7 separate regions of the Homo sapiens genome follow, and regions 2, 3, 4, 5, 6 and 7 are each linked to region 1. Evidence: promoter capture Hi-C in 16 types of primary human blood cells and fetal thymus (Javierre and others, 2016). All regions are on one chromosome and are shown on one strand. The core of a region is centred on a gene start or on the middle of the fragment in contact, and the rest is flanking DNA. Distances in the headings are between cores, read along the strand shown.

Evidence for each region. The method cuts DNA at HindIII sites, captures the fragments that hold promoters and counts their contacts. A CHiCAGO score of 5 or more calls a contact.
Region 2: a contact is called between a fragment that was not itself captured here and the fragment with the promoter of MEF2C-AS2 in region 1, in 1 of 17 cell types (non-activated CD4 T cells). The highest score is 6.2, in non-activated CD4 T cells.
Region 3: a fragment that was not itself captured here is called in contact with the fragment with the promoter of MEF2C-AS2 in region 1 in 16 of 17 cell types (total CD4 T cells, naive CD8 T cells, non-activated CD4 T cells and 13 more); the score reaches 56.0 in total CD4 T cells.
Region 4: a contact is called between a fragment that was not itself captured here and the fragment with the promoter of MEF2C-AS2 in region 1, in 16 of 17 cell types (naive CD8 T cells, total CD8 T cells, naive CD4 T cells and 13 more). The highest score is 26.9, in naive CD8 T cells.
Region 5: a contact is called between a fragment that was not itself captured here and the fragment with the promoter of MEF2C-AS2 in region 1, in 6 of 17 cell types (total CD4 T cells, activated CD4 T cells, non-activated CD4 T cells and 3 more). The highest score is 8.8, in total CD4 T cells.
Region 6: a fragment that was not itself captured here is called in contact with the fragment with the promoter of MEF2C-AS2 in region 1 in 6 of 17 cell types (activated CD4 T cells, non-activated CD4 T cells, naive CD8 T cells and 3 more); the score reaches 6.8 in activated CD4 T cells.
Region 7: a contact is called between a fragment that was not itself captured here and the fragment with the promoter of MEF2C-AS2 in region 1, in 1 of 17 cell types (naive CD4 T cells). The highest score is 5.9, in naive CD4 T cells.

The regions. Positions count from the first base shown.
Region 1 is chr5:88,674,508-88,677,693 of GRCh38, forward strand. MEF2C-AS2 (MEF2C antisense RNA 2) reads left to right here and starts at 1,711. Exons shown (of 4, transcript NR_146284.1): 1 at 1,711-1,756. All of the region lies in intron 1 of MIR9-2HG (MIR9-2 host gene), which reads right to left. RefSeq lists enhancers at 683-782, 1,220-1,785. The HindIII fragment of the contact is 5,913 bases long and covers 1,599-3,186 here.
Region 2 is chr5:87,722,163-87,725,348 of GRCh38, forward strand. The region is part of intron 1 of LINC02144 (long intergenic non-protein coding RNA 2144); the gene reads right to left. Among named protein-coding and RNA genes, the nearest start is that of LINC02144, 9.3 kb to the right of the region's middle. RefSeq lists enhancers at 1-283, 284-784. The HindIII fragment of the contact is 1,054 bases long and covers 1,087-2,140 here.
Region 3 is chr5:87,768,410-87,771,595 of GRCh38, forward strand. No RefSeq gene overlaps it. Among named protein-coding and RNA genes, the nearest start is that of LINC02144, 37 kb to the left of the region's middle. The HindIII fragment of the contact is 1,092 bases long and covers 1,148-2,239 here.
Region 4 is chr5:87,789,283-87,792,468 of GRCh38, forward strand. No RefSeq gene overlaps it. Among named protein-coding and RNA genes, the nearest start is that of LINC02144, 58 kb to the left of the region's middle. The HindIII fragment of the contact is 5,719 bases long and covers 1-3,186 here.
Region 5 is chr5:87,808,276-87,811,461 of GRCh38, forward strand. No RefSeq gene overlaps it. Among named protein-coding and RNA genes, the nearest start is that of LINC02144, 77 kb to the left of the region's middle. The HindIII fragment of the contact is 4,366 bases long and covers 1-3,186 here.
Region 6 is chr5:87,825,210-87,828,395 of GRCh38, forward strand. No RefSeq gene overlaps it. Among named protein-coding and RNA genes, the nearest start is that of LINC02144, 94 kb to the left of the region's middle. The HindIII fragment of the contact is 3,297 bases long and covers 1-3,167 here.
Region 7 is chr5:87,842,229-87,845,414 of GRCh38, forward strand. No RefSeq gene overlaps it. Among named protein-coding and RNA genes, the nearest start is that of LINC02144, 110 kb to the left of the region's middle. The HindIII fragment of the contact is 2,550 bases long and covers 263-2,812 here.

The DNA of each region.
Region 1 (3,186 bases), core at 461-2,960:
CGGGGAGCAGGGAGGCGGTAATGACAGCCGCTGGCGCTCAGCCCCGCCGGCGGCCCCTAGCTTTCCCGCCAAGTGCAGCCGGAGGACAGACAGCCATGCGTGTCCTTGGCGGGAGAGCCCCCACCCGCCGCGCGCGCCCGACCCCCGCGCACACGCACACACTCCCCTCGCAGGCGTGGGGCCCAATGGCCACGAACATGTCAGGAAAACAAAGCTGGGGCTGCGAGGTGGAACGATGAAACGGCACACTTGGCGGCCGAGGGCAGAGCGGAGAAGTCGCCACCACAGCCACCGGCGCCCCTTTCTTGCCTGCTCGTAGATCTGCCCTCCGGCCCAGAAGAGGCCGAGGACCATTTCTTAGCTGCCCCAGAGGAGGGGGCGAGCAGAGGAGGGGGCGGATGTGCACAGGGAGGTGCCAGCGGTCCGGTGCGCGGGCACGCACACGCCGGCGCGCAGGGCTGCCGCGGGCGGAAGGAGGGGAATGACAAGGCCTCGGCCGCGTCTCGGAGAGGCACTACCTCCGCGCTGAGGCCGCTGAGTTTCAAGTGCAAAACACCAGGCCAAATCCGGCAAGGCGGCGGCTACAGAATGGCTCACACTTCAAGCCTCCTTCCTCAAACAATCCGATGGGAAGGACCTGGCTGTTCAGGGGAAGCCTTTGCTGGCCTCTCTTTTTACATGGGGTGAAGTCGAACCCCAATCTAGGAGCCCTGGCCTAGATGGCTCCGCAGATGAGTCCCAGACGTGGCCATGGAAAGACTGATCTCTCTCTGCTCAGAGCGCCTGCCTCGGTGCTCACTAGCGCAAGCACCTCCCAACACACATACATACATACACACACACACACAACACAGCACTCCCATCACATTAAAACGCGCGCTCATGATCCTGCCGTTAATGAAGCCGAGGCGCATAATGAGTGCACAGGTAAATAGGTACCGAAACCAGAAGACTTCACCAGTCGGCTGGGCGATTTACCTCTCCCTACAGGGAGCACTTGTAGTTATCGTGTTTTAGGAGTGATTTGCTGTTGTCTGTGGTCTCTCGCTCCTCTTCTTGTGGAGAGAAGCCAAAAAATATATATGTTCCGTGGTCAGAGTCTTCTTTCTGATAAGCTACCCGAGCATTGGTCTAAAACATCTGTTTTATCTGTTGATTTTGGTTTGTTGTTTTGGGGAGTGTTGCTTTTCTGAGGGAAGCAAAAGAACGTGTGTGTGGTGGGGCTGGAAGCTCAGGGCAAGAGTCTGCGTGTGCGGCCGGAAGGCTGGCGAGTCTGAGAGCCGCGCGGTGCAGAAAGAAGGCGGCGGCTTGTCCTCCCCCGGGGCCGGCACTGGTCCCTTGGCACCCCGGCCTGGGCTCGGCTACTGCCGCCGCCGCCCGCGCTCTCGGGCTCCGCCGGCTGCCGCTCCGTGTTTTCCCCCATCCCGGCTTCACGTTCAAGGTTTAGCTGCGAGGTCACGTCCATTGACGTCAGCTCCCTGTCTCCCTCTACGTCCGGCTACATTTACATACATCAAGGAAATTAGGGCATTAAAAAAATATGCAAATCCTGCGCGAAGAGGAGCGGGTGCATTCCTGGCGCGATCGCCTTTTATTGAAGCTTTTAATTAAAGGGGCCAGTTGGCGAGCCCCTGAAACAACCGCCAAAACCCCCCAAAAGAGAAAAATAAACGCTGTAGCCTTCGAGAACGGTTGTTTCGGCTCCTGTTCTGTGGGCGGCTGAGGACCGCCGGCTGCCCGGCTCGGAGAAGAACAGGTTAGAGGAGGCAGCTCCAGCCCATGCATAATCAGGGCTCCGCGGCGCCTCCATTCTTTCCTCCTCCTCCTCCTCCTCCTCCTCCTCCTCCTCCTCCTCCTCCTCCTCCTCCTCCTCCTCCTCCTCTTCCACCTCTCCTCCTCCTCCTCCTTCTCCTCCACCTCCTCCTCCTCTTCTTGCTCTCGCTCCTGTTGGTTCCAGCGTGTATTATTTTTAATACTGATGCATATGTAAAGGTATATTTGCATTTTTTAATTTGCGAGAATTTCAGATTTTGTCATTTTATTGGTTCCCTTTCCCTCTTTTTTTTTTTGGAGGATTTTTATTGTTGTTATTTTATTATGTCTATGTGTCTCTCTTGTCCCTTTCTGTCTTTTTTGGCGAGTGTCTGCTGCTGTCTCTTGCTAGATAATATACACAGTTACCTCCCTGCTTCTGTTTATTTAAGGTTACAAATATGCACATCTGTCATGTATGCAATGCCAGCTGTATAACCTCCTGGTTTGGTCATAAAGGAAAATACACATTTTTTTTTCTTTCTTGACATACCTTGATGGGCTGTAGTGCCCATCGCTCAAGGCTCAAAGTTTGATTGTCTAATTAACTTCATATTAGCAGAAACACAGTTCGGGGCCAGTGCTTTCGAGATAATGTATGTATAAGTGAAGTGATTCCAAAGATTTCTAAATAATTTTTGTGCTGATTGCCTGAGAGGTGCGGCATTCCCCGCCCTATTGCTTTCTAGCATTTCTTATTGAAAAAAATATATATATTTTAAAATGGGTAGACACAGCAATGGACAGCCTTCTGCAAGGAAGACATTTTCAACCATGTTGTATGTTGTACCTTATTGGCTGCATTCAAAATTTACTGAGTTTCATTTTTATCTTAATATGGCTGGAAACAAGGCACATTATCTTGACTGAAAAGCATCCTTGATTCCTGACTTTGAAATGAAAGCAAATACACAAATAAAACAATTGGCTATATTAAACCAGTTGATGTGGCTTAAAATATACAGGCCTTGAGTTAGATTTCAAGCAATGGTAATCTTGTTTATAGGATCGGATTCTCTTTCTTGGCAATATAGCTATGCAGCACGATGGCTTTTTTCCACCTTTTAATTCCCCCAAGCTATCATTTAAAAAAGACTCAATCTATAATTGCAAACCCTGAAAGAACAGCAAGTATGCACACATGCAGCTTATTCAATTAAACAAGTCCAAGTACATGCACAGGTAATTAGTTTTCTTATGAATGACTTACCTGCACAGATACTCAGGCCAAGACTCAGCCCTCCCCAATGGCCTTCATGTATAAATATTCACATGTATTTCCCCCTATTTCAAACCTAAAGCGGTATGCCATCTTTCATGCTGGACTATCCAGCATCCATTTTCAGCACCCTTAACTCTTATGGAATTTCCAGC
Region 2 (3,186 bases), core at 364-2,863, 950 kb before region 1:
CATCTTTCTATAGCCAAAGAAATTGCTCTGTCAGAAGGGGAAAGCAAGGAGAATATGTTATATGGGCATATTTCTATTTAACAAAACCTAGGGAAAGCTAATTGTTCCAAGCTAAGATCAGAAAGATAGAACAAAAGTGAAAAATGTGAATTTGTTTTACAAATCTTGCCGGTATCTGGATACACAACGAATGACTCATCCAGGGGCCTATTTTTGCACAGGACCACAAAGACCGGTAACTGTTTATGAGTGGGCATAAGGAACCCAGCAGAGTAATCATCTGGCAATTCAGATGCAGATTGCAGGCATGCAGGAAAAGGGTGGGAACTTGCAGCTTTGATGGGTAAAACTGCTGACTTTAGTCATAAAGACCAAGGATTAAATATGTTTGCTTTGTTAGGGATGAATCAGACTGAACAAAAATTGTCTCTAGTTGAGGTAGTTGAGTAGAGTGGCTGTGTTGTGAGTGCCTGGCAAATGTTGTTCTGTGTGAGACTGAAAAAAAAAGTCCCTACTACTGTCTCCATTGGCCAAGTAATCTTGTGGCAAACATTTATATAAATTATACAAACACTGCAATGCACTTTATGCCATGCTGTGATGCAAACTAGTTAATTAATATTATTGAACATATGGCATATGAAAGAAGAATGAGTTGAAAATGAGATATCAAATCTACATAATTAATAATATTTTGATTTAGAGGAATGGTAAGACAAGTGTCTCCAACATAGAAAGAGTGTGACTTCAGACAGGTCAGCTCAGCTTGTCTGTCTGTACAAATTGCTCTAGACCTGACACTACAACACATTGTGAGGGATAAATTCAAGGGAGAAGCAACAGCAGGAAAAGAAGGCCATTCCTTGGGGTGGGGCGGGGGGTGGAATTAAAATAACAGTAGATGCGTGTTCAAGTACTATGTTGTAGGGCCAAGATTATAAATCCTACAGAAATTTAAAGAGATCACTCAAAATGAAAACAAGTTAAAAATTTTGATGATCCATTTTACATTTGGTCAGTTGGGAAGCAATACAGTGTGATAGAAAACTAACTATATAATTTTAGAAAAATTACTCATTTCCTTTAAGCTTCAGCTTTTTTACTTGCAAGTTGAAAATCACTCTAGTAAGAATAAACAATGCTTACTGACAATATATCCCATTGAGAATTTCAAACTAGACTTTTGAGCTCGTTTATGAGCCATTATTTCACTCTTAATGCCTTACCTCTAATATGTCAATATTCATTTATTGACTGAAATCAGTGAGGCTTAAAAGTAAAACATAACTATATTTATTTTATTTTATTTATTTTTTTGAGATGGAGTTTTGCTCTTGTTGCCCAGGCTGGAGGGCAATGGCATGATCTCAGCTCACGGCAACCTATGCCTCCAGGGTTCAAGCGATTCTCCTGCCTCAGCCTCCCAAGTAGCTGGGATTATAGGCATGCACCACCATGCCTGGCTAATTTTCTATTCTTATTAAAGACGGGGTTTCTCCATGTTGGTCGGGCTAGTCTCGAACTTCTGACCTCGGGTCATCCACCCACCTCGGCCTCCCAAAGTGCTGGGATTACAGGCATGAGCCACTGCACCCAGCCAAAAGATAACTATCTTTTAAATTAACAACAAAAAATAAATTAGACAGTGCTTATGGTGATGTGATAATTGTGCAATTGCTGATGGAATTGTCATCCTTTGGAATGCAAATTGGAAATATCTATTATGCTTATATCTTTTGACCTAATAATTCTGTCTCTGTCTAAGGTATAATATATATTGCAGGAAACCTATTAGTACAGAGGTGCTCACTCCAACCTTGATCAATAGAGCAATGTATTATATGCAACAAAATAAAAAATATATAGAGCTGTTTAGGAAAATTGATGGAATATCATAAAACTACTAAAACTGACAGTTAAAGACTATAATAAAGGCAACCCAAGTGTCCATCCAAGTGAAAATAGAAGAAAAAAATGTGGTATATTCACAATGGTTTATTGTACAGAAATCATAATGAATGACATAGAGTGACAGACAACATTGGGAATAAATCTTAGTAATAAGATTATTAAATGAAAAGATAAATTCCAAAAGATTACATGCAGTATGCTCAACTTTTAAACAATCTAAAAAAAAATAAGCTTTTAAGGAGTGCATCTAAATGCAATACATGAAATAAGAGATTGGTAAGAACAGAATTTTGAATGATTGTTACCTTTAGTAGGGAAAGGCAGAGTGAGGAATGAGGAACAAAACATTTGATGTAGGTTAATATGAAGCTCCTAATATATGAGGAGATGATGGTGAATTTGTGAGAGATCTTATAGTGTTACAAATAAGTGAGTAAAAAATTAATAGGGCCTTGCATGAACATTACATAGCATTTGTCATGAACAAAGATTGTAATTCCTGTAATTATGTATACCTAAGGGCCAAAGGGAAGGAGAAGACTAAGACACATATTTTTAAAATATACAATAATTTTTAAGGATTTATTACTAAAAAATTAGGTAATAAACACAAATAATAATTGTGTTACTGTGGTGACTGTGATATTTTTCTTTTCTCTTTCAAATTTTCTAAAATATATTTTTTTAATGACAACAAACGCTTACAACTCATTAAAAAACAGTGTGTCGATGTGTATGTCAATGCACTTTTATAAACATGAAGTAGACAAATGAAATAAACTAAAATTGCTTGGCATTTCAGCAGGCTGAGGACCAATCCCCATGGCTGAAAGACCTGAGAAGGGTCACTGTTGACCTTGCATTGACAAATAGTTTAAAAATCAATCAAGAAAAAACAAATGTGACTATTTGTGAGAGTACATGCCAGATCCAATTAGTAGTGAAAACTTATATTGCCTACTAGAAAAATCTCTATTTGGCATCGACCCAGAAGGTGCAACAGTTGGGCCTCAAACATGAAAGCAATATAACTGATATGCGTTCTGGCTCAGTTATTTCTGCAAAGGTTGTATATGGAAGAATTTTAGATGAGTATACATAGCATGGGCTTTTAGTCTACTCATTGAATGTTGATGTGCAGAAAACCAGTAAGAATAGGGCATGATTCATAATAGAAGCAAATTGATTGGACACTTTGCAATGATGTTCATAGAGAAGGACACCGGTGCATGCTTGCATGTGAATGTACAGAAAGCTGGCTCAGAATTGGAAAAA
Region 3 (3,186 bases), core at 444-2,943, 910 kb before region 1:
TTCTGTTCTTATTCATCATATTCTAGCTTTTATTATGGTTATGCACCTTACTTTTTTTATAGATTCTAGAATCCTTAAGCGTAGAGAAGGTGCTTTATTCATTCCTATTTCTCCCCGTAATCCCAGCACAATACCATACTGATAGTAGGAGATGAAGAAATATCTGTTTCATTCAACTGAACTGAATTTACACTAACTCCTTAGGGAATCCAGTAACCAATATTAAAAAGTTTCAGTGTATTTAATAGACTTTTCTCTCCTCCCCACCCCTTTAAGTGTATTTGGGAAATATAAAACCATTAAAGAAAAATTAGAGGTTTTAAAATTAGTCATGAGCATATTTCTCAAAATGTTGTGATCAAATATTGAAGTAGATAGAAAGATAAACTGGAGTCTGCTTGTGTGTTCCTAAGAATACACATTGGATGTGATTATGAAAAATTACTAGGTAGATGGCTTTGAGGCTAATGATTTCACAAGTTATTTAAATTGTCTGTCATTTAGAAGTGACAGACCTTAGTGTTCCTTCCACCTTGACTGAACTTAAGGCTTTTATCTGAAGGAGCTCTTCAATCTGAAGAGATAAAGTTGTATAACTTTCTTAATAACCACCTGGTACCTGGTAGTGAACTGTGTTCTTCCACTGGGACAAATGCCTTCTAATATTTTATATATTCCTGGTCAGTGACTTAAAAAAAAAAAAACCTACCCAATTGCAGTCTGCCATTCAAAAGGAATATTTCTGCAAAGAAAAAGATGTGAAAATGTAGGCATTCAAGTGAAAATTCAATCCTTCACAGTACAGAGCCTCTGCGAAGTCTTTTAAATGACCCTTTTTATCATGGTGCCATGTCTGTACCTTTCTGAATAGTGAGACCTGGTAAGAAAAATAGATGTATGTATACAAGTGGTTGAGTAATGTATTACTCATATGCACTTTGTTCTTTTTGGCAAACTGACCTTATCAAAGAAAAGAAAGCTATACATTGTGACAAGCTGAGCTTTACCAGAAAGTCTGAATTAGGAGTGCAAGTCCTCTGTCATCTGGATTAAAATGTGATCGGAAAAAAAAAAAAAAAGAATCATCATTTAACCTCTTCAGAAGGGGAGATGCTGGAAAATTGACTTCCTTTTAAATCAAAACCTAAGCTTTCTTATTACATTTGGACTTAGCCATCAGAGATGATTTGCATTAAAACAATTATATTATTTCCTCTAAATATTTGTCCACTTTTTGATGTTCAAATAAACAGTGTTAGATTGTTTGATTATCTATACTTTACAGAGGACTATTATAAGAAGTTTCTCCAGGACAAATGCTGTGCCTTATTTTTTACCTCTGTAGATGACACTTAAATAAAAAATTAAATTTTTGAATTAATATTGTACGGTAATTAGAAGGCCTTAATAATTTTTTTAGGAGCTTGTCCATTCCTGGAACTAGTTTAAAAAATACTATTTCCTCATGCTCATTTAACTCATTTTAGTGAAAATATTAAATTATTTTAAAAATTAGTGAAAGAATAATGAACCCAATTCATTCCTTTAAAAATAAACAGAGACATGGAATTCAAACTTGCTCATCTAGATATCTTTTTCCTTTGTAATAAGCAACCTCTTTTCAAATGAGTACATAAAGATGGACAAAATAATCTGGAATGGATAAAGCCAAGAGGAAAAAAAAAGACATTTTACATAGCACAAAGGCACATAAAACTATTGCTATTTTATTCACAGTAAAAGAGTGTGTGTTGCTGCTGCCCAGTTACTGTGCATGTGAATTCACCAGATCTAGACGTATTTGCCCAATTAATTACTCTGCTGTTCGACAATGATGGGTAATGGTCCAAGCAGCCTGCTCCTCCTCAGATCACCGATGGAATTCATGCACGCATAATGTCCTCTCTTCAGAAAATGATCCCAACAAGCTCTATAATTATTTTTTTCTTTTGAAATAAAGGCATCGATTAAATTATATGTTAAAACAGTTTGTGGGAGAAGAATTGGAAATGAAGCAGGATCTCTCTCTCACTACTTTTCTGGGTAGAAAGCTGGAAGATGAACTTCCCCATTCTACTCTTTCCAGGAGCGAACTTCGATATTAAAAAATAATTGCTGATCAAAATTGTTCATCGTTACCCTTAATTAGTCTGTTGGTTTTCAGTAGTTTTCTTCATTAACACAAATGAAGGTGTGTTCTTCCACGTTCAACGATACATGCTATCCCTCCGTGCTGGTAAGCTTATGATGTAGCAGATCAAACAAAGAACCCTCGTGTACAAATGCACAGCAGTCCCCGTAAACTGGGCTAATTAGCATTGTAATTAGCTCACGTGATAACTAAAACAAAGTCAGAGTAACACAGGAATCACTTAGAAAGGATATCAAGTGGTGTCGTCCCCCTTCACCCGCCAGCCCTCCCGCCCTTGTTTCTAATGCTGGGTAGAGCCCGGAGCCAACCTTCTTCGCAGCTCCCCACTCCCCAGCTCCCCGGCTCCCCACCTCCCCACCTCCTGGTGGTGCAAGCCAAGTTTTCTGCCGAGGCCTGGAAGTTAAGGGATGCGCAGGGCTTGCCTGAGGTTGCCATAGCGATGTTGTTGGGATATTAGTGTGGTGCACTAAATGTTGCCAGTTAAAGGAAGCTTACAAAAACATCTTCCCCCTTTGGCTTTGCTGGAATTGGCTGACAGTTCGCTTTATAAGCATGAGAACTGGAAGCAAGAGTGGAGACTTGGGCTTCCTTTCACGCAGATTTACCAGCTTACTTAGGAGTAAATGTTAAGTATAATTTGTGGAGTTCCACTCACACACTTCTACACCAACATGACTTATAAAACAGAAATCCCTAAATGGGGCCCACATGCCTAAATGGTTTTCTTTGGAATTTTACAATGTAATAATAGCTAAGGCATCTTGCTACTTGATGTGGGATTCTTTCTAATTTTATCCAATTATGAATAGAAGTTCCAAGGCTTTATTCAGAGGAAGTGAGGGCAGAGACCATCAATGAAAATCAAAAAGAAAAATTACCATTGTAGGGGAAAAAAAAGTCAATAATTGGGATAGCACTAATCCATTCTTTAAATAACTTTGTGTCACTTAAGATTAATGTGTTTTCACTCTTTATTATATTTGATCCTTACAACTACCCCGCAAAAGAGATATAGAAAATATTTTCATTCCCAT
Region 4 (3,186 bases), core at 454-2,953, 890 kb before region 1:
AAACAGTCTCTAGAAACCATAATTGTCTTGGAAGAATATAGGAATCAAGGCTTATACAAAACAGACACAGACACTTAAAAATTCATCTTGGTGAACTCTTTCCTACATACTGGATAAAACCAGTAGTAACCACTTGAAAATAAAGCATTAACAATAATATTCCTCTAAAAATATAAAACATAAGAATGAATGCAAAAGTTTTTATTTTCTTGTTAAAATCCACCTTGAATAATGATTCTCCAAAATATACACAAGAAATACAATTTTTAAGTTGAATATAATAAACAGAAAATAAAAACAATACTAAATTATTTTATGTTTTAGGCAAAATTTCATCTCTTCATATTGTATAACTTTTTTACTTAATTTTCAAAGATTTAAATTGCGTTTATAAATTAGATTTTATTATTAAATTATTTTTTTAAGTACTCAAAATGTTACCTAATTGTTAATCAATATTTCCCATTTGTAGGGTCTCCTAGATTTGTTAGCTTAGACTTTAAATTTAGACATTACATTCTTTCAACATTTTTAAACATATGGCATTAAATATTATAATTTATAAATTTTGTTTTGTATTTTTATTTCAACACCTTCCTAATGTCATACTTTGAATGCAGATTTAAATAAAGTATTTAAATATTTAAATCAATATATCGAATTTGAGTAGAACAGTTAACTAACAAAAAATTGCCAAGTTATGTGTTGGATGATAGTTTCCTTTTAAAATATGATGTTGTGCATACATTTTTATAAATGCAGCAATTCAGTTGAAAAGTTTTAACATTTGTATATGCTAGCTGATACAGATAATTAAACAACAGAATCTGTTGCTAATTTTATTTTCATTAGATTTGATTTTTTCAAGTGGGTATCACCTGTTAATTTTGTACTGATTAGTTCAGTTCCTTTACTGATTTGTGTCTCTTAAAAGAAACCTGAGAGTTAGTCATTTACTGTATGAAAAATTTTTAATTCAGTCATCAGTTGGCAATTTTAGACTGCCTTGTATCTTAGGCAAGTAACTAGAATGTAAAATAACTAAGTTGCAATAATAGAATTTTTTAGTGTCTATAAAGTACATTTTCTGTTTTCCATTTTAAAAAAGTGCTGTAATGTTAATTCTTCTTTAGATTGCCCAGAAATAATAAAGCATAGTAGTAACAAAAATATCAAAATTTTGTTCAGTACCCTCACTGAACTAATAATACTTAAGGTAGGCCAAATCTTCACACTGTTATGTAGTTGGAGGTGTCTTTCCTGAGTACTTTCTCTTGTATCACATTTAAGAATTGCAAACAAATTAGAAATTGTTTTAGCTTTAACACTAAAATATAATAATAATTCTAATCCCTATCACTTTCCTTAAAATTGAAATGTAATTCTGTTTTGTTATTTTATTATGTAGCCTTTTGTGATCAAATTACATATAATCTCTGAGTAATTTCCATGATCTCTGACTAGAATTTCGTATGTTTAGATATTCATAAAACAACAATGCACTGTACCCAAATTGGTACTTATTTAGCACTTTTAACAATACTATAACATTATTTGAATCAATTTGTATTAGAAATAGAGTAAAAATGAAAAGTGCCACATATTTTACCCAATTATTTCAAACTGTTGATAATACAGAAAGCAGACTATTTTATAGAATTTTATTCTCTATGCATAATCACATTTTCTTCTGAAATTACTCATTTATCAAAGTGTTAAAGAAAAATAGAGATTTTTCTTTTATATCTTCCAAAGCCTCTCGAAAGACCAACTTGCAAAATTATAGTGATGTATATACAAAGTGTTATTTCCTTCTACCTGAAGAAAACATTACCTCAGTCTCATGCATATGACATCAAAATAAAAATTGAATGTTTGTTTTAAATTGAATAACCATGCCAAAAATAGTCTAAATGTTATTAGCATCTAGTCCACAAAATAGTTTCAGTTAGATTAAATATGATTTTTCCCCTAGTGATATATGTTATATTCATGTTATTTTGGTGGTGGGTGGGGGTAGGGAGGAAAAGCTATTTCTCATTTAAGTTGAAGTAACATTGTTAGTAAGATAAATTTTAGTTCAATGAAATAGATATTGGATTTTTGAAATTGAATTTGTAGTAAAATTTTAATCATCTCTTTTCATACACGTCTAATTCATAATGATAACATTTATTTGTGGTAGATTCAGTGGACCACATCTTGACAGAATGTTTCATTTGTCATGCCTGAAGTTGGTTAAGTATCCAATATAGTGCTTTCTACTTAGGGTTCTCTGCTTTCAGAATGTTACTTTCCTTGAATTCTATTTTTGAAACATTTAAGAAAATTTAATTTCCCAGGATGGGAGATTTTACAATATTTCTCTCTTGGTACTTTGTAAAATTTTGAGATTGCCTGACTTTGTCCCTGGAGCTTTCATGTGAAAATATTTGGATGTACTCAGCTATAGTTTCCCTAAGATTCAAAGATTCATTGGGGAGAAAATAAGCTATTAGTAGGACTCTTTACAGTTTCATCAGAATATCCAAGGTTGTGTACAGAAGCTGAAGGCTTTCTTTTGACCTGATAAGGCCTTCCAGTTCAATCTCAGCCCATATTCACAAAGTACATGCATTAGTTTCCTCATTCAGCAGAGAGAAATTGTAAACATCTGTTGAGAATATTCTGAGATGCCAAACTACTTCTTGGAATATTTTAAAAGTAAAGTCAAATCACCTTACATTCAATCTATATGTTAAAGTCCTAGCTCCGATTGGAGATTTCATTGGAAAGCCAGTTAGCAACATTCTTTCTCTGTTTCTCCTTACAAAGTAACTGACCACGAAGCAATGTGACATGTTAAATGATGTTTTTTGCAGCAGCTATCCTGAAAGCCTATACACGTGTTTCATTGAAGCCACTGGACTCCTCCCTCTCCAATGCTTAAAACATCTGTCAAATTCTTCTTTTGGAATAGCCTTCAAAGGGCGTTTATTAGCTGCTAGAAAAATATTCTTATTTTATATGTTTCATTTTTAAATCCAGAGCAGAAATATCTATGTTCAGCAGACTTAACTCTGTATCAGTTTCCCAAAGCCAGATCTTCCTTTATTGGACAAAGATTTTCCATTATAAAAAATGTTCGAAAGAGTGAGCAGTGGCTTCTAAAGGCAATTATCAAAAGAGGACATTTAATGCTGGTTA
Region 5 (3,186 bases), core at 361-2,860, 870 kb before region 1:
CAAGACAAATAAATGGAGAGTTCATGCATCAAAAGATATAATATTGTTAAATGTCAGTTCTTTCCAAATTGATCTACAGACTCAATAAAATCCAAACAAGATCTCAGCATTTTTTTTTTTTTGGTGGATATTTACAAGCTGATTCAAACATTTTTCTGGATATTCAAAAAATCTTGAATAGTCAAAACAACTTGAAATTGAAGAAAAAGTTAAAGGCTTAACACAACCTAATTTTGAAATTTATATAAACTAGTGTAATATATAGAAAAATAGATAAATGAAACAGAATTGAGAATCCAGAAATAAACCCATGCAATTACAGAAAACTAGTTTTGAATAAATATGCAAAGATAGTTAAATTTTTAAAAGGATTGTCTCTTCAAAAAATGATGCTGAAGTAATTAAATATCTATATGCCAAAAACAGAAGAGAAAAAAATAATTTTTATTTCTCACATCATTACAAAATAATTCAAAATGAATCACAGACCTAAATGTGAAACTTAATGAAACTTTCAGAAGAATAAGGGTGGAAGATTTCTTAGGTATGACAATAAAAACATAACTGAGAACAAAATAAATGGATAAATTGGACTTCATTTAAATGTATACTTCTGCTATTTAAAAGACACTTAAAAGATAAGCCATAACCTGGGAGAAAATATTTGCAAGCCGATTATCTGCTAAAAGACTTGTGTCCAGAATGTATAAAGAACTCTCGAAAGTCTATAATAAGAAAACAAACAATTTTTTTCAATGGGCAAAACCAAGTAATATTTGTAAATGTCAAAATTAAGTATATGAAGAAAAGCACAACATTATTAAAATACTCATTAAGGAAATGCAAATTAAAATCATAATGAGACACCACTACACACTTATTATAATAGCTAAAATTAAGGTTGACCATAATAAGTGTTGGCTAGCATGTGAAAGAACTGGAACTCTCATATATTGCTTGTGGGAATGTTAAGTAGTACAACCGCTTTTGAAAATAGTTCGGCAGTTTTTGAAAAGTTAAATTACACCTACGATAGGAAGCCGCTGTTTCACTCCTAGGTCTTTACCCAAAAGAAATAAATGCATACATTTATTCTATATAAAGACTTATAAAGACTTTTTCATGAATGCTCATAGTAGCTTTATTTATTATTTATTTATAATTTTCCTTTGATTTGATACGTGATTTAATTTTATTATTGGAAATATTTTTTTATTTTTTCATTTCCATAGATTACTGGGGAACAGGTGGTGCTTGATTGCAGGAGTAAGTTCTTTAGTGGTGATTTGTGAGATTTTGGTAAACCCATCACCTGAGCAGTATACACTGCACACAATTTATAGTCTTTTATTTAAATAATTTTTTCATTGATGCATAATAGATACACATAGTTTTTTAGTACGTGTGATAATTTAACACATTCATATAATTTGTAAAGATCAAATCAGTATAATTGGGATATCCATCATTTTAAATATTTGTCTTTTCTTTATGCTAGAAACATTTGAATTATTATCTCACTATTTTGAAATGTGTAATAGATTATTGTAAACTATAGACACCATACTTATCTATCTGACATTAGGTCTTATTTCTTTTATCTAACCATATATTTGTATCCATTAACCAACTTCTCTTTCTGCCATTTTCCTTCTCCCCTTCCCAGCCTCTGGTAACCACCAATCTACTCTTTACCTTCATGAGATCCACTTTTTTTTTTAGCTCCCTCATATGAGTGAGACCAGGCAATATTTGTCTTTCTGTGTTTGGCTTATTTCACTTAACATAAAAGCAAATTTTATAATAGGCAAAAACTGGAAACAACCTAAATGTCTATCAACAGGTGAATGAACATATCCAAATAATGTTATTACTCAGAAATAACAAAAGAATGAACTATTGTTAAATATGAAAACATGGAAGAATCTCAAAATAATTAGGCTGAGTGAAAGGGGACAGACCTCCTCAAAAGCATACATTGAATGATTTCTCCTATATAAAAATTTTTAAAATGCAAAGTGATCTATAGTGACAGAAATTAGAATGGTGCTTGACTGGGGATGGGCTTTGGGAGAGGTTGGCAGGGGTGGAAGGGTGCATAACAAAGAGGCTTCAGGAAACTTGGAGGTACTAGATATGTTCATTACCTTGTTGGGGTGACTTAATGGGTATACATATATATCAAAACTTGTCAAATTCTACAATTAAAATATATGCCATTAATGTATGTCCATTATGTCTCTTGTTTTAAAAAAGAAAAAAAAAAAAAACAGAAAGAAAAATTCCTGGGCTCCAACTGCTCACAACTAAATGTGATAAATGGACTCCATAGACAATCTCAGTAACAGGTGGTAAAGTGGTACCTCAGCACTCTGCACAGTTGCTATGAAGGGCAGGGGAGAGTGTAGCTTGAAACATCCAAGAAGGGGTTCTGTAGGAAACCCATGAATTGCATGAGTGTAGTCACATCTCACATCCTACCCTCTTTTTCCATTACACCTTCACACCATACCTCTCCTGAGTTCCAATCCCCTTCTAATATATTTTCCCTTGTAGGATCAGTCTCTTACATAGACAGGTTTCAAAAAGTCAAGTGCAAGTTAATGTACACCAATAGGACTGGTCTGAAATAAAGCACAGCTCACCTTAATTCAATGTCTAACAGAGAAACAAACAGAAATACCTTTAGACCGCATTTATCATTCTTTCAGAATAAGGATCATGTGAATAAGCCCATACATTGGCCTATGGACTAGGTATCCTCTACAGTAGCTTATTTGCAACAGGAATGCTGGCTCATTGTAGCAGATTTATATTACCATTGCTCTAGAAAATAATGGTATGTCTACAACCTGTTGCTTTAGACCATTGGAAAAAACTGGCACATGCAATGACAGAGAAGGGAACATACCTCGATAGGTGGTATATCCCAAGGGGTAGAAAAACACCTCGCAGGCCAGGCTCAGTGGCTCACACCTGTAATCCCATCACTTTGAGAGCCTGAGGCAAGTGAATCACTTGAGGCCAGGAGTTTGGAAAAAACCTGGCCTACAACATCAAAAGGTGAAATGTTCTTATTGATTTTGCCAATATCTTGTCTACATCCCAGTTTCTTCTTCAGGACTTATTTGAGAGTTGGATCCCGGAGAAAGAACTCCATGATAGCCACATTCAATTTTATTGAAA
Region 6 (3,186 bases), core at 269-2,768, 850 kb before region 1:
TCACTCTTTTCAGAGTTGAATTGTCAGCTTCACTAAATGCTCTCTGCTGTGCTGAACTCCCCACAAAAGGTATTTCGATATGTGGGGGCCAAGGACCCTCCAAATAAAATACACTGAAGGGTCTTTCCTGTGCATGTGGTCTGTCCTTTACTCTTACAAAGTCTTGTGAGTGTGATTATCTTGGGATATTTTCTATCTTAGTTAGAGACCATATATTTGTTCAGGAATAAAGGAAAAACACTTAAGCTGAATGGATATTTACTGTAAAGAATCAGGGATGGGCTATAGAGCCTGAAATGGCTCTGACTAGGAGAGAAACAGAACATTCTTCAGGAACCAAAGCTCTCCCTCCTCCTCTCTTTTGTTTGTTTTTCAGATGGGTCAAATAGAGTCATTGCAGGCCTGTCTTTAAGTCACCTTCCAGTTCAGAAGTTCGTTCCACTCATTGGATTTCCCACAATCCATTTCTAAATGCCCAGGAGAAGGAATCTGATTGGCCCACCCTGGTTCAATCAGCTGTGAGTAGGTAGGCAGGGCCAGGAACCAGTCACTCAGAGAAGCAGCATGAGCATGTCAGCTTTGGGATGTCAGGAAACCTGCCAAAGGGCCTAAGGGCTCTTCCTCCTCTCAGCAGGCAGAGTACATCAAGTTAATTTCCTCAGGAGTGCATTCTGATTAGAATATGCTATAATTAATTTCTGATGCCTGGAGAGACTGGATTAACCATCATGTTTATCCAAATCTCTTACAACCATTACACAGCAAAAGGATTCCTTTTGGGTTAGTTCTTCAAAAGATACACAAAACTCTTCAATCCACTCACTGCCACCACACACACGCCATATCCCCATCCTCCTTCCTGTCTGCCACCTCCCCTACATCAGAGAGAACTATAAACACAAAGAACATGTTATTGGCCTGATAGCAAAGAAAGTAATACTACCTCCCACTAACTTTATGCAAAACGATGTTGCTGACAATGAATATACTATGTACTGTTTGTTGAGTACTTTGAGTTTCTCAGATAGTCACTGTATAAATACAAGGTATTACTACTATTATTACCATGTTTAACATTTGGTTAACAGTAGGAAAGTTCTTTTACAGTCTTGGCTGTAAACTATAGCTATAAATTTTTCCCATCTTCTTTAAGGCAGTTCCAGAGGCTTTGAACAATGATACTAAAGTAACAATTCAAGTTCATCACTGTGCCTAATGAATAACAGCACTCTTGATTAATGGTACTTGTTCAACATCACACTGACAGAAGTATGAAGTGTAAAAAAATGGAGTTTCTGCCCACTGTGATTTTTTTCTCCATTTTTTAAAAAAACAGGCATCATCAGAGCTGAATTTTTTTAGGGCTTGATTTTTTTTATTACCTATTCGTCTATTCAACTACTGCTGTATTTTTTTATTTGACAAGTACTCTGCTTTTGTCTCATGCTGGTGCTTGCTATCAGAGTGTTATCACTCAAGAGATCTGCTGTAGGATCTGCTAAGCATCTCTGCAATCAGCAAGCCCTCTACTAGCCTAGCACCAGACCTCTTTCCAAGGTAGAAAAAAAGAGAGAGTCCGGGAGGGAAGGAGGCTGAACTTTGTTAAAAGGCACACACTGGTCACAGCTGACAAGGAAAGCCAGGTGCGAGAATATCTATCATGAAGCCATTGGTGAATTGCAGGTGACTAGAGGCATACTTCACGGTGCCTTATCAGAGTTTATGTATTTTACTAACCTTATTTCATTGGGTTGAAGCTATGCAGTTTTATGAGCCCCCCAATCCTCTACTAGTTGGAAATAAATTCCTCCTCGGCTATATATCAGAGAATGACACTGGCTGTTGGCCCATCTCTCTGGGCAAATTCACTGCCTGTATTTCTTCTTTTTCTTTCATCCTGGGGCTAGGGTGCAGGGTTGTTTCTGTATGACATGACATGCCAAGAAGGAAAAGTCTTGCAGTTCAAGGTGAGGGAGGCAGGGCAACCTGAGTACCAGCTTTAGCCTCTTGTTACATCCCTGTCTTGTAAATTGTTCAATCTGGTGGCGATTTGAATGGTTAGCACTGTTGTCAGCTATCTCTGCACTCCAGCTTTCCTCTCTCCTGGCAGGAACATCTGGGACACAGACTTTACAAACAGTAATAATAACCCTACTTTAGCTTTCACATTTTTGCAGTTGTTATTATGTCATCATGGTAAATGACCATAATTGACCCCCACAATGAAATGTTGCCAACATTCATATGAATAGCAACTGCAGTCTCACAGGCTAGCAGGCATGTGCTTTGCAAATAAAAAATTTGCTGAATAGCTGAAATCTCAGGTTCATTTGGGGACCTGAGTATTTCTGAATTACAATGGAAAACGATCTTTTTCTGAAACAGAGCAGTGCTGCATACAGGAACCGAAACAGGAGGTCAGGGGTAAGTATTAGAAGGATACTTCCAGGATTTGCAAGAGCCCTGTCTTTGGGGGCTGATTTATGTCTTTGGGGGCTGATTTAGATATGGAGTGATGAGTCATGAGACTCCAACTGAGCATAGAGTTCTTGTAATTGTATTTCTCATCTAAAGGGCACGCAAAATACGCACGCACGCACGCACGCACACAAAATTCCAGCATCACTGCCATCCCAAAGTTAGCATATATCTTTCCTGATGTTCTCCAGAGCTGCCATGCAGTGAGGACATAACAAAACAGTGAAAAAAGAATTGACAATGCCAAAACACATATCAATGCTCTGACTAGAACTGTACATTTTAATATTGTGCTCAGGAGGCAATTTCAGCTAAATTAGTCTTGACAATTTTTGACTGATTTGTTTGAGAAACCAGGACCAATTCAAGATGGTTGTTTCAATAAATGAATGAATGGGTGAATAAATTAACTAAATCTATTTTCTCCTATTTCTTGAGAAATCTACTTTATTACAAAATGCCTATTTTTATCATAACTTTTTTTTTTCAAACTAGGCTTGTTACCCTAAAATAAAACAATCTAACACAGAAGGCAGGTACCTTGAAATTAGCTTTACATAGATTTATGTAATCTAAATAAACCTTCTTGATTCAGTCATTATTATCCAGATCTAGTTAAAATCACTCACACAGGATTTTGAAACCTGCCTCAAAGTCTTCTCTTAATCTCCCCTCATGTTTCTGAAACAAGCTTCTCTCCAGTTCTCT
Region 7 (3,186 bases), core at 288-2,787, 830 kb before region 1:
CTGCAACCAGAAGACAGAAGAAATCTACAGTGATTCTTCTTTTTAGAAAAGTGTTAAGCAACGATTTGAAAAAATTTTTTGTACTTAATATTGCATCTTATTGCCTGCATATTCAGTTTTTAGGAAGATTGATTTAAGAGATAAACCTAAGGTTAATTGTAAAATAGGAAAAAATGGTCTTATCTCCCATCATAGTATGATTTCCCTTTCCCTGGGAGACTATTCTGTGTTAGAAGACAATCCCTGTTTTAGAGGCCATCTAAGCTTGGAGAATTCCCACCAAGATGTTAATTTTGTATTATTCCTTCCAAATATAATATCATTTCTAGTGTAGTATGGACATACTATTTTGTCCACTTACTATGTACTACATTTCTTTTTTGACAACTGCCTTCCCCTCTACTCTACCTACACTTCCTACGCCCTATATAATCTTGACTTTTGATCCAGGCAACACCACTTGTCCTTGGCTAGGCCAATACCCATTCTTGAGAATTTTTAAGTTGAGACAGAGAGATGCAGGGAAATTTCTCTTCTGGAATAAAGCTGTATAACATAAACTTAATAAGCATAGGTGACTATGTTTACATCATATGGAAAAATCTAGCTTTCCAGGAGAAAGAAGAATATATAGAGATTAAGGACAGAAAGAGTTTGAGAAACATTAGAGATACTGATTCCACATGACTTATTGCGGGGAAAGGAGTGGAGAAAGGGGCCAAGCAGTTTTCCTGCCCTTCCTACTGCTGTTAGCTCTCTTTGGAGTCCAGAAAACATCTTTTATGTTCTGTCCTGCAGAATCCTCCTGACCCAACTTCCTCAACCAGCCATGCTGTGGCCATTAATTTTGTGCAAGCATGCATCAACTTATTTAGGGTACATTTATATGGTATCTCACCAAAGGCCCAAGCTCTGTACTTACTGCTTACCACCTGGAAGTGTCTCAGATGTTACAGTGTGGGAATCTGTTCCACAGTTTTGTATGTAGATTATGGAAGTATAAGGGATTTAATGCTAATTGAGCCACTGCTGAACCATGGGAGCTGCTGGATAAAGACTTTCTCCTTTTGACCTCAAGATGTATTTTATAAGTGTTTCCAGAGGTCTCAGAGAGATCGAACAGCAGTCATCCAATTCTCTGGTGCAAGTTAGGATGGCCAACTTTATAAATCTCCCTTGATTGGCTTTTTCTCCTTCCTTGTTTTATTCCCCCTGTCCTGTACTACTGTTCCCTGGCATCACAGTCTCAGATACCCTATAAAGAATCCTTCATGTCAGCCTCTACTTTCGAGGAAACTCTGGCTAAGACACCCAGCATTCTTTCAAAAAATTTCCTTTTTGTTAGATTTCAGTCATAACTAATAGTAGCGGGTTATAAGAGACTTCATTTCCAGTCCAAGTGAAATAGCACACTAACTGTGACTTTGAACAAATTAACTGGTTATACCTCATTTGTTAATATATAAAATGGTGGTATTGGGCTCACTTCTGTGGTTCCCTTCACTCCTAAGATTCTACGATTTAAAGAAAAGCCTTCATGTCTCAGAGAAATAAATCTCTAGTGGTGGCAGGCACTGAAACCACCAGTTCTTCCTGCATGTATTTTCTGTATATCAGTCCTTGTGTCCCTGGCAACACCGTGGCTGTCAGCCCTTGATTTTCATGTGTCCCATAATCCAGAACACCAGGGAGGGAACAGTGATGGTGGTACCATTTGGGAGTGGAGTTTATAAATTAATTTCCAATCTGAATCTCTCAAGCCTCTTCAAAAGAATCTTTGAAATATAATTGGTCTAAAATTAATTATATTCTCATTTTCAAAAGTCAGAAATTCTATGAAACATTCTTGGAAGTCTCTTTTGTTTTTGAAAACATGAGTCTCATGGGACTTGAAAAAGTTCCTACAACTTTTCTTAGTTTCAAGATTCTCAAATTTGGGATTTTGACTTCAGTGAATTTCCTTGTTTTCCTCTTATATCACTCACCAGACTCATTCCTAGGGGCTTTTTGTTATTAAGGTACACCCATTCTTCAGGACCTCCATCAGCTTTAGAACTCTGTACTGTGAATTGGCATCAGACTTTCTTGTCTTTGGTGAGGACTGGTTGTATCTACAATTCTCTCTACTTTGACATCTCTTAAAAGATATGAGCAGGGCAAAAAAGCAAAAAGTTCAAACAATTATGTGGCTTGAAAAAACTCCAACTAAAAAATTCTACATACTTGGTATTGAAGAAAACATGAGGATTAATGTCCTAAGTAAATCAAAATAACTGCAGATGTTGTTGAGAGCAAATTCTTGATATCTCAGACCATTCTGAAGAGTGAGCATGTTCAACATGCAGTGAGAATTAACACAGTAAAATCACGGCAAATAACTAAAGTAAGACAGTAGAGGACAGGTTTAGCTCCACCTAGTGCCTTTGGAGCAAAGAGGAAATGGTGAAATATTTGATAGTATGACAGAAAGAATGATGTTAGAGTAAGGGGAGTCTAAGTGATAAAGATTTTTAGACAGTGATGAATCTCAAATTTGTTGTTTGATCCATGTAAAATCAGAGATGTTATGAAATCCTCTTTACTCAATAGCATTGGGAATGCAGTGATTTTTAGTAAACATGAATTTGTGCATTAGCCAATAAAAACAGAAATGATCAGAAAAATTAAAATGCAGTTGAGAAATATATTTGCTTTAGAAACTCAACTGAGTAGTAAAGCGAAGACAAACAAGTTTTTGTAAAGCATACACGAGCTCTGATTATTTTTGTTAAATGGGTTTGGGATTTAGAAGATCAAAGGAAAATGCAATAGAAGCTTCTGCTGCATAACCAGTGCTGGATTGCCCAACAAGCAGACTCCTCACAGGTTTAGGTTCTCAGCCAAGCACAGGATTGGAGGAACAAAACCAAAAAGAAAAGCAGGTACGTTTTTAATGAACTTATCCAGAATTTCGAAAACTAAAAAACAACTGGAAGGAAACTATATTCATTTCCATATCAGTTTAAGCAGTGTCCTTTTAAAAGCTAAACTTTTATTTTGAATTACCTATGAAGGTGAGAGTAGGACCCAGCCTCTCCACTGATAGCTTCTGTGATGCTCTTCCCAGGGCCAGTATGGAATCTGGTGGACATTGTGACGACCTCTGAGCTGGAAAGAAGATGGACTCAAAGTAGCTCCAACCCAGCT